Regions from separate parts of the Homo sapiens genome. Here region 1 is linked to region 2. Evidence: promoter capture Hi-C in human tissues and cell types (Jung and others, 2019). All regions are on one chromosome and are shown on one strand. The core of a region is centred on a gene start or on the middle of the fragment in contact, and the rest is flanking DNA. Distances in the headings are between cores, read along the strand shown.

Region 1 (4,471 bases), core at 5-2,504, 690 kb after region 2:
TACGTAAAGAACTCTTACAAATCAATAAAGATCCTCCCAAAAGAAAAACAGAAAATGGTCAAAGGATATGAATAGGCAATTCAAAAAAACAAAACAAAAAACCACAAAGACTAATACATGCGAAGAGCTCAACAACACAAACAGTCAAGGAAACGCAAGTAAAAGCAAATATCATTTCACAAATATCGGACTAGAAAAAATTTAAAGTCCGTCAAAACCAGGTGTTAGAATCTGCCTAAACGAATGAAAGTCCCAGAGCAATGCACCAATTATTCACTACGTGTTTGTACCCCAAGGAGTCACTACCCATTCGAATGTTAAAATTAGTGGCACTAGGGCAGTCATTCTTTGGCAAAAGTCAACAACCTCCAGAAAAGAGGAACATTTCAGCATAACATCAACTGCGCTCACAAGGTAGAAAAGTTTTTTAGGATAATCAGGTGGGGAAGCCACGCCCACATTTCCTGGACGTGAGATTTCAAGTTATCTTGTGTGACCGCTCCCTACGATTTAAGATACAAGAAATGTTCACAGGGTTTCCAAGAACTCGAAACGCCCCAAAACAGACGCAACGCGGGATAAAGAGGAGAGCTCGAGCTCAGCGATCTAGGGTCTGGGCCCCAAGGCTTCCACTGCCAAGGAAGCTGCAGGCACTGACAGGCATCAGGCACACTCATCCTGACTCCACTCGCCCGCAGGCAGGCCCGCAGCCCCGTCCCCCCGCCCCCGGGACGTCGAGGCCGCCGGCGTTTCTGGACGCGGAACCCGCTCCCTCCCACCACGACGCCCAGCGGACAGAAGAGGGTCAGGGGCCCCGCGGCCCCGAGAGCAGACCGATCTCCCGCCGAGGCCTCGCCCGCGGACGACAGCTGCTGGGAGACTAGGAGGGAGCTGGGAGGAGGAGCCGCGACCCTGGCCCGCCCCGAAGCAAAACAGAAACACAATGCAGAGGCGACGGAACGCAGCCCGGCCCGCAGCCGAGCTGTTCCGCCGACGGGAGCGAGATGGCCGCCCCCTCCCCGGGCCCCGCCGCAGCCCCCGCCGCCGCGTCGGCCCCACAAGCCGCCACCGCCCACTGCCGGCCCCCCTTCGCTTGCCCGCCCGCCCTCCTGGGACACGGCCCGCTCCACCCCTCGCGGCTGCTCACCGCGCTGAGGCGTATCCCGCGGGGTGGCTGCGCCGCCATCTTGAGCGAGCTACAAAGCCAGGAACGGCCTCCGCCGCAACCCGACTGGGAGGTGGCGGAACGACTGTGGAGCCCTATGGGTACCGCCCACTTCCGGGGAGGGGCGCACGTCTGGCCCCTCCCACCCACTTCCGCCTCCAGGCAATGCCGAATTGGGAGCTTGGGGAAGATGAATTGCCTGACTGGTTAAAGCAGGGTACAGTGGGAGCTGAGCTTCCAGCGCGGGGCCCTGCGGGCCTAGGGCGCATGCGCGAGGCGCGGCCGGCCCGTACCCGTCTCGACACCCAGCTGGAGCTCGAGACTCGGGGATCTAGAGTTTGAAGCCTGGCGCGAGATGCGGTATACCCGAGACCGGTGAACTCCAGTCACTTGACCTGGTCGGATGTGAATTGCGCAGAAAAAAGCCATTCCATATCCACCAGTGTCCATGTGAAACCTTAACGAAATAAAGACGGAAATTAATGTAGACTGTTTGGATTTGCCCTGAAAACTATCAATCTAACTCATGATTTAAAAAAAAAAAAAAGAGTTCTGGGGCCGGGCGCGGTAGCTCACGCTTGTAATCCCAGCACTTTGGGAGGCCGAGGTGGGCGGGCGGATCACCTGACTTCGGGAGTTCGAGACCAGCCTGACCAACATGGAGAAATCCCATCTCTACTAAAAATACAAAATTAGCCGGGCGTGGTGGTACATGCCTGTAATCCCAGCTACTCGGAAGGCTGAAGCAGGAGAATGCTTGAACCCAGGAGGCGGAGGTTGCAATGAGCCGAGATTGCGCCATTGCACTCCACCCTGGGCAACAAGAGTGAAACTCCGTCTCAAAATAAATAAATAAGAGTCCTAAAGGCATAAGGCCGGTGCAGTGGCTCATGCCTATAATCCCAACACATTGGGAGGTCGAGGTTGGGGGTTCACTTGATAGGGGTTCAAGACCAGCCTGGCCAACATGGTGAAACCCCATCTCTACTAAAAATACAAAAATTAGCTGGGCATATTAGTGGGCGCCTGTAATCCCAGCTACTCGGGGGGCTGAGGCAGGAGAAGTGGGTGAACCCAGGACAAGGAGGTTGCAGTGAGCCCAGATCGCGCCACTGTACTCCAGCCTGGGCGACAGAGTGAGACTGTCTCAAAAAAATTAATTATTTTTAGAAAGAGAAATTGGCTGGGTGCAGTGGCTCATGTCTGTAATCTCAGCACTTTGAGAGGCTACATTGCGAGGGTCTCTTGAACCCAGGAGTTCGAGACGAGCCTGGGCAACACGAGGAGACCTCATCTTTACAAAAAAAAAATTGAATTAGCTGGCAGGGCGTGGTGGCTCACACCTGTAATCCCAGCACCTTGGGAGGCTAAGGCGGGCAGATCACTTGAGGTCGGGTGTTTGAGACCAGCCTGACCAACATGGCGAAACCCCATCTCTACTAAAAATACAAAATTAGCCGGGTGTGGTGGCACATGCCCGTAATCCCAGCTACTGGAGAGGCTGAGGCAGGAGAATCACTTGAACCCAGGAGGTGGAGGTTGCGGTGAGCCAAGATCACACCACTGCACTCCAGCCGGGACAACAAGAGCGAAACTCCATCTCAAAAAAAAAAAAAAATTAATTGTGCTTGGGGGCGCACGCCTGTGGTTCCAGCTACTTGGGAGGCTGAGGTGGGGAGGACTACTTGACCCTGGGAGACTGAGGCTGTAATGAGCCATGTTCTCACCACTGCACTCAGTCTGGGCAACAGAGCGAGACTCTCGTCTCAAAAAGGAAAAAGAAACAAAAGAGAATGGATTTTTTTTTCTTTTTTTTTTTTTGGAGACCGAGTCTCGCTCTGTCGCCCAGGCTGGAGTGCAGTGGAATGATCTCGGCTCACTGCAAGCTCCGCCTTCCGGGTTCACGCCATTCTCCTGCCTCAGCCTCCCGAGTAGCTGGGACTACAGGCGCCCGCCACTGCGCCCAGCTAATTTTTTGTATTTTTAGTAGAGACGGGGTTTCACCGTGGTCTCGATCTCCTGACCTCGTGATCCGCCCGCCTCTGCCTCCCAAAGTGCTGGGATTACAGGCGTGAGCCACCGCGCCTGGCCTGGATTTTTTTCTTTTTCTAGAGACTCTGTTGCCCAGGCTGGAGTACAGTGGCACAATCATAGCTCACTGCAACCTTGAACTCTTGGGTTCAAGCAATCCTCCCGCCTTAGTCTCCCAAGTAGTTGGGACAACGGGTGTGTGCCACCACACTCAGCTGATTTTTAAAATATTTTTTATAGAGAAAGGGGTCTTGCTGTGTTGCCCATGCTGGCCTTGAACTCCTGGGCTCAAGTGCTCCACCTTCTTTGGCCTCCCGAAGTGCTGGAATTATAGTCGTGAGCCACCATGCCCGATCAAAGAAGTAAGTAACCAGGATAGAGAGGAATTTCCAAAGAATTCAGAGGGACAGCATTCGAGGGAGACACAACTCTGCAATTCCAGAAAAACAACAGCAGAGGCCTAGAGATTTGGAAAGGGCTGCTCATGTTTGAGGAACTGATATGGGACAAGTGTAATTAGAGCCTGGCATTGGAGACAGAGAGTGCAGTAGGATAGTGATGAATTGATGAAGTGCAGTAGGATAGTGATGAATTGATGACATAACCTATTGTACAACAGACTGGTCTGCACAACCTGTTGTACAATAGAGTATGTCTTCAAATTTTCCTAAGGTTGAGAGGATTCTGGAAAGATAGTGTGAGGACATGGTTTTTGAGCCACCCCAAAAATACCACTACATAAATCCCTCCATAAAAACACATAGAGGGCTGGGTGTCATGTCTCAAGCCTGTAACCCCAGCACTTTGGGAGGCTGAGATGGGCGGATCACTCGAGCCCAGGAGACCAGCCTGGGCAACATGGGGAGACCCCATCTCCACAAAAAAAATAAAAAAATTAAAAAATTTTCTGGGCGTGGTGGTGCACACCTGTAGTCCTAACTGCTCGGGAGGCTGAGGTGGGAGGATCGCACTCCAGCCTGGGCAACAGAGTGAGACTCTATCTCAAAAATAAAAAAATAAAAAAAACAGCTAAAAGGCATCCTCATCAACCCCAAGACAGGAGCAAGTGGAACAACATGCACGAGTGTGTCCGTTTAAGAACAACAGAGGGGGGAGTAGCAAGATGGCCGAATAGGAACAGCTCTTGTCTGCAGCTTGTCTCCCAGTGAGACCAACGCAGAAGGCAGGTGATTGATGCATTTCCAACTGAGGTACCCGGCTCATCTCATTGAGACTGCTTAGACAGTGGGTGCAGCCCACAGAGGGTGAACAGAA
Region 2 (4,466 bases), core at 1,252-3,751:
TGTAACAAAGGAAAGGTAAATTCTATGAAAGCAAGTCATTACATCAGTAAGTATAAAGCAACTGAGTTACCAATGCAGAGTAACAAAAGAATGGTGGAGGTCATTAATCTTGCCCACAAAGCCCTCTGCTTGAGTGTATTTGCTCAGACAACATGAGATACCCCAGGAGTGCTTGACGGGGCTGAAAGTGCTTCAGAAAGGGCCAGACGCGGGGTGGGGGCTTTTAACGGCAACTCTGGGCACCTCAGATGGGGCTCAGTCCTATTTGCTCTGTGGCACCGGCCCAACGCTAATGGTGCTCTAAGCTTTTCTCCAAGGCAAGCGATAGTGGCAGCCTCTCCCCTCCCCTCCCGACCTGTTGCTTTGCAGAAGAAACCGCAACAGGGAGGACATTCCTTATAATTCCCATGAAACGACTACGGTTTTTTTTTTTTTTTTTTTTTTTTGAGATGAGTCTTGCTCTGTCGCCCACACTGGAGTGCAGTGGCATGATCTCGGCTCCCTGCAACCTCCGCCTCCCGGGTTCAAGCGATTCTCCTGCCTCGGCCTCCTAAGTAGCTGGGATTACAGGCGCCTGCCACCATGCCCAGCTAATTTTTATATTTTTAGTAGAGACGGGGTTTCGCCATCTTGGCCAGGCTGGTCACGAACTCCTGACTTCAGGTGATCCACCCGTCTCGGCCTCCCAAAGTGCTGAGATTACAGGCCCGAGCCACCGCGCCCAGCCTACGATTATGCTTTTATAGTGGGTATGCTTTTTTAGGAAGGAGAAGCCACCAGGAGCCCAATCTATAATGCGAGTCAGGTCTGATTAACACCTTACTCATTCAGGTTCCAACTCCCAGACCCCGAGGCGCTCCTGGGTTAGACGCCCAAGGGACGGCCCTGCGCAGAAGGCCATTCACGGTCCCTGTATTTTAAAAGACGATGCCACTTTCTGGCTGGAAGGGTTACCTACAACGCCCGCACTGAACCTTACCGGCCTTCCAGTTCTGGTCAGCTCAGCATCTCCAGGTGTCTGGATCCAAGGTCGCCACGGCGCGGGGCTGGAACGGCAAGCGCCAGGAGAGAGTGAACCCTGGGCACTTCTGCTGCCTTCAAACTATGCCATGAGAGCTATTCTTAGTTCCAGTGTCTGCCTGAAAAAGAGGCACCGGACCCCCCAGGAACTTTCCCTGGAGTTCTCAGGGCTGTGGATAAATTACTGTCATTTGTGTTTTTTCTCTCCTGCTACGTCCCCAGTTCTCTGTCTCCAGTTAAGCTTTGAGAAGGGAGGTCCCGAATCTCACACAATTATCAGGGAACCCATTAGTTGAGAGATTTCTCTCCCTGCAAATCCTGGCTGAATTGTTCAATTCGGGGTTCCCCAACTATAGCTGTCTACTTTGTCCCCGGTTAATTTCAATCACACCACCTTGGTCACGGAAGGAGATTGATTCTACAGAGATGATTTTACAGAGTTGTAGGATGAAAAACAAACAAACAAAAAAAGGGGGCTGGGCGCGGTGGCTCACACCTGTAATCCCAGCACTTTGGGAGGCTGAGGTTACTGGATCACTCGAGGTCAGGAGTTCGAGACCAGCCTGGCCAACATGGCGAAACCCAGTCTCTACTAAAAATACAAAAATTAGCCGGGCGTGGTGGCAGGCGCGTGTAATCCCTGCTACTCAGGAGGCTGAGGCAGGAAAATCGCTTGAACCCGGGAGGCGGAGGTTCCCGTGAGCCGAGATCACGCCATTGCACTCCAGCCTGGGCGACACAGTGAGACCCTGTCTCAAAAAAAAAAAAAAAAAAAAAAAAAAGAGGGAATCTTTCTCCTGCCTGGCTACCTGGCCCATCCGGCCTACCCGGTCCCTTCCCTACCTCCCTGGCTAATTTGATTTCCTACAACGTTACTGTCTTTAAAAGGGTTGGTGCCCAGGGACAGCGAACGCCGAGCCCCCAATCCAGGGACAACAGAAACGGCTACCGAGAAAGTAGCAAGGTGAGAGATTGCCTTTGCAAGGCTGGCTTAGGAGCCCGAGACTGCAGTGTCCCCGGCTGGCTAACTGAGATCTCCTCTACACGGAAGCGTCGGCCCCTTTCCTGGCCAGCTACATCCTGGGCCTCCGCACTTCAGAGCTGTGCGTTGGAACCGGAGAACTGAGCGCCCCTCCCGGGAACCCGGCTGCCGGCTCAGGAGCTTGCTTGGCGTCGCCGTCGAGCTCCGGAGCTCCGCTGGGGATCGGGGGTTCAGCAGCGCCCCAGCCTCCCGCTCGCTGCGCTCCCCGCACCGCCACCGCGCACGCCTCTCAGCGCGTCCACCGGGGCGCGGGGCCACCCTCACCTCTCCGGCCCGCGCGGTGGCGGAGGCCTCCAGGGAGCGTCCCCGGGGCAGTGACAGCCGCGCCCCCGCGCCTTCCGGGCTCCGGCCGCCGCTTCGGGCTCCATGGTGCCGGCGGAGCCCGCGCCCCTTGCTGCGGCGCCGGCCTACGAGCGCGCCTAGATCCACTCGGGCTAACGCGCTCACCTACCCGCGCGCCAGGTTTAAAAACGGGGGCGGGGCGGCGCGGGCAAGCGCTGGGAGGGGGCAGGACCCGAGGAGCTCCGTGAGGGGTGCGGAGGGGGCCGCAGGGTACGAAGGAAAAGCCCGGGTCGGAGGAGCGGAGGGGACCAGAGAAGTTCCGGGAGGGGACCAGGGAGCCGGGGATGGGGAGGAGACGAGAAAAGCTCAAGGAGGTGGCGCCGGGTGTCAAGGAGGGGGGTCCGGCAGGCCCGGGCAAGGGTGGGGACGGGACAAAGAAAAGTCGGGGAGGGGGCACCAGAGAAGGGGTGACCAGAGGATGGAGGTACCAGGGATTGGGGCCACGAGCTCGGGCTGGAGACAGCGGGAAGTGACCCAGGAACCCGGGAGAGGAAAGCGAGGCCCGCGGGCTAGGGGCGTTTCCGTCGGGCGCACTCCCTCGGGGACTGGGGGGACCTGCGCTCACCTGCTGGGCTTCCCCTGCCGGATGTGGGATGTGAGGAGTCCCGGCTTCTCCGTCCCTCTGTGGTCCCCGCGGCCTCGGGCTTTGGTCCTGTGCGAGCATCGGATTCCCTGGGTTTCCGGAGAATCTCGCTTCCACCGCCTTAGAGCGGCAGCGGGTCTTCGGGGACATCTACCGAATCCTCGGGTCCGCGTGCACCGGCCTTGCCTTCGGTGCTGGACAGTGGGCTCCCGGACGCCCCGACGCCAGGGCTCGAACCCGTGGCGAAGCGGGTGGGGTGGGGCGCGGCGACCCTTCCAGGAGACAGAAGGCCAGGAATGGAACCGAGCAAGAGGGGTGCTACGAGCGCACCCTTCCCACCGATGGCGGCCTTGGAAAGAATGCGAATTTTTAATAAAGCCTGGAGCGGCGGGCTTCTCCTTCGGTTAGCCCCAGCCAGGCTTAGAAAGGGCCTCCCGACCAGCAGAAGCGACCTTGCCCGACCCTGGGGACACTTCCCCGGGCGTCGCTGGAGCGCCGCTGCCACCATCACCAGCGCACGGCCAGGGTGGGAGAAAGCGGTTTCACACGTAGAGCACTGCGACAGAACACCGAAGGCGCTGGAGGGCCTTCAACTACCCCGGGCTCCTCAGGGGTAGTTACTTTATATAATTTAAGTTACTGTGATGGATGTTAAAAAATCGAAGAACTAGGCCAGGCGCGGTGGTTCTCACCTGTAATCCCAGCACTTTGGGAGACCGAGGCAGGTGGATGGATCACTTGAAGTCAGGAGTTCGAGATCAGTCTGGCCAATATGGTGAAACCCGTCTCTACTAAAAATAAAAAAATTAGCCGGGCGTGGTGGCAGGCTCCTGTAATCCCAGCTACTTGGGAGGCTGAGGCAGGAGAATGGCTTGAATCTGGGAGGCGGAGGTTGCAGTGAGCCGAGAGTGTGCCACTGCACTCCAGCGTGGGAGACAGAGAGAGATTCCCTTTCCAAAAAAAAAAAAAAAAATCGAAGAACTTCCGCAAGGCGCGGTGGTTCATGCCTGTAATCCCAGCACTTTGGGAGGCCCAGGCGGGTGGATCACTTGAGGTCGGGAGTTTGAGACCAGCCTGGCCAACATGATGAAACCCCGTATCCACTAAGAAAAATACAAAAAAATAGCCGGGTGTGGTGGCGGGTGCCTGTAATCCCAGCTACTTGGGAGGCTGAGGCAGGAGAATCGCTTGAACTCGGGAGGCAGAAGTTGCAGTGAGCCGAGATCGCGCCAGTGCACTCTAGCCTGGGCAACAAGAGCCAGACTCTGTCTCAAAAAAAAAAAAAAAAAAAAAATCGAAGAACTTCAGACATTAAAGTGTTTTCACATTTTTTTAATTAAGATTTTGAGCAACAATAATTAAATCTAAATAAAGGCAAACATTTAAGAGGGGGGAATTAATGGGAGGAGGCTAGAAGGAGGCAAAGAACATTAGTGGGCCATATTGCAACAATAAGGTACCATATTTAATCTAAATGCA

Evidence for each region. Contacts are between HindIII fragments. The study calls those that stand out against the background at their distance.
Region 1: the fragment with the promoter of MORC3 here is called in contact with the fragment with the promoter of RIPPLY3 in region 2 in 1 of the 25 tissues and cell types used here (dorsolateral prefrontal cortex).

Annotation. Positions count from the first base shown.
Region 1 is chr21:36,316,980-36,321,450 of GRCh38, reverse strand. It overlaps MORC3 (MORC family CW-type zinc finger 3), which reads right to left and starts at 1,254. Exons shown (of 17, transcript NM_015358.3): 1 at 1,148-1,254. The coding sequence starts at 1,186. RefSeq lists a silencer at 671-1,130. The HindIII fragment of the contact is 28,282 bases long and covers 1-4,471 here.
Region 2 is chr21:37,004,737-37,009,202 of GRCh38, reverse strand. RIPPLY3 (ripply transcriptional repressor 3) reads right to left here and starts at 2,501. Exons shown (of 4, transcript NM_018962.3): 1 at 2,327-2,501; 2 at 980-1,046. The coding sequence starts at 2,430. RefSeq lists a silencer at 2,327-2,436 and an enhancer at 2,660-3,160. The HindIII fragment of the contact is 12,344 bases long and covers 784-4,466 here.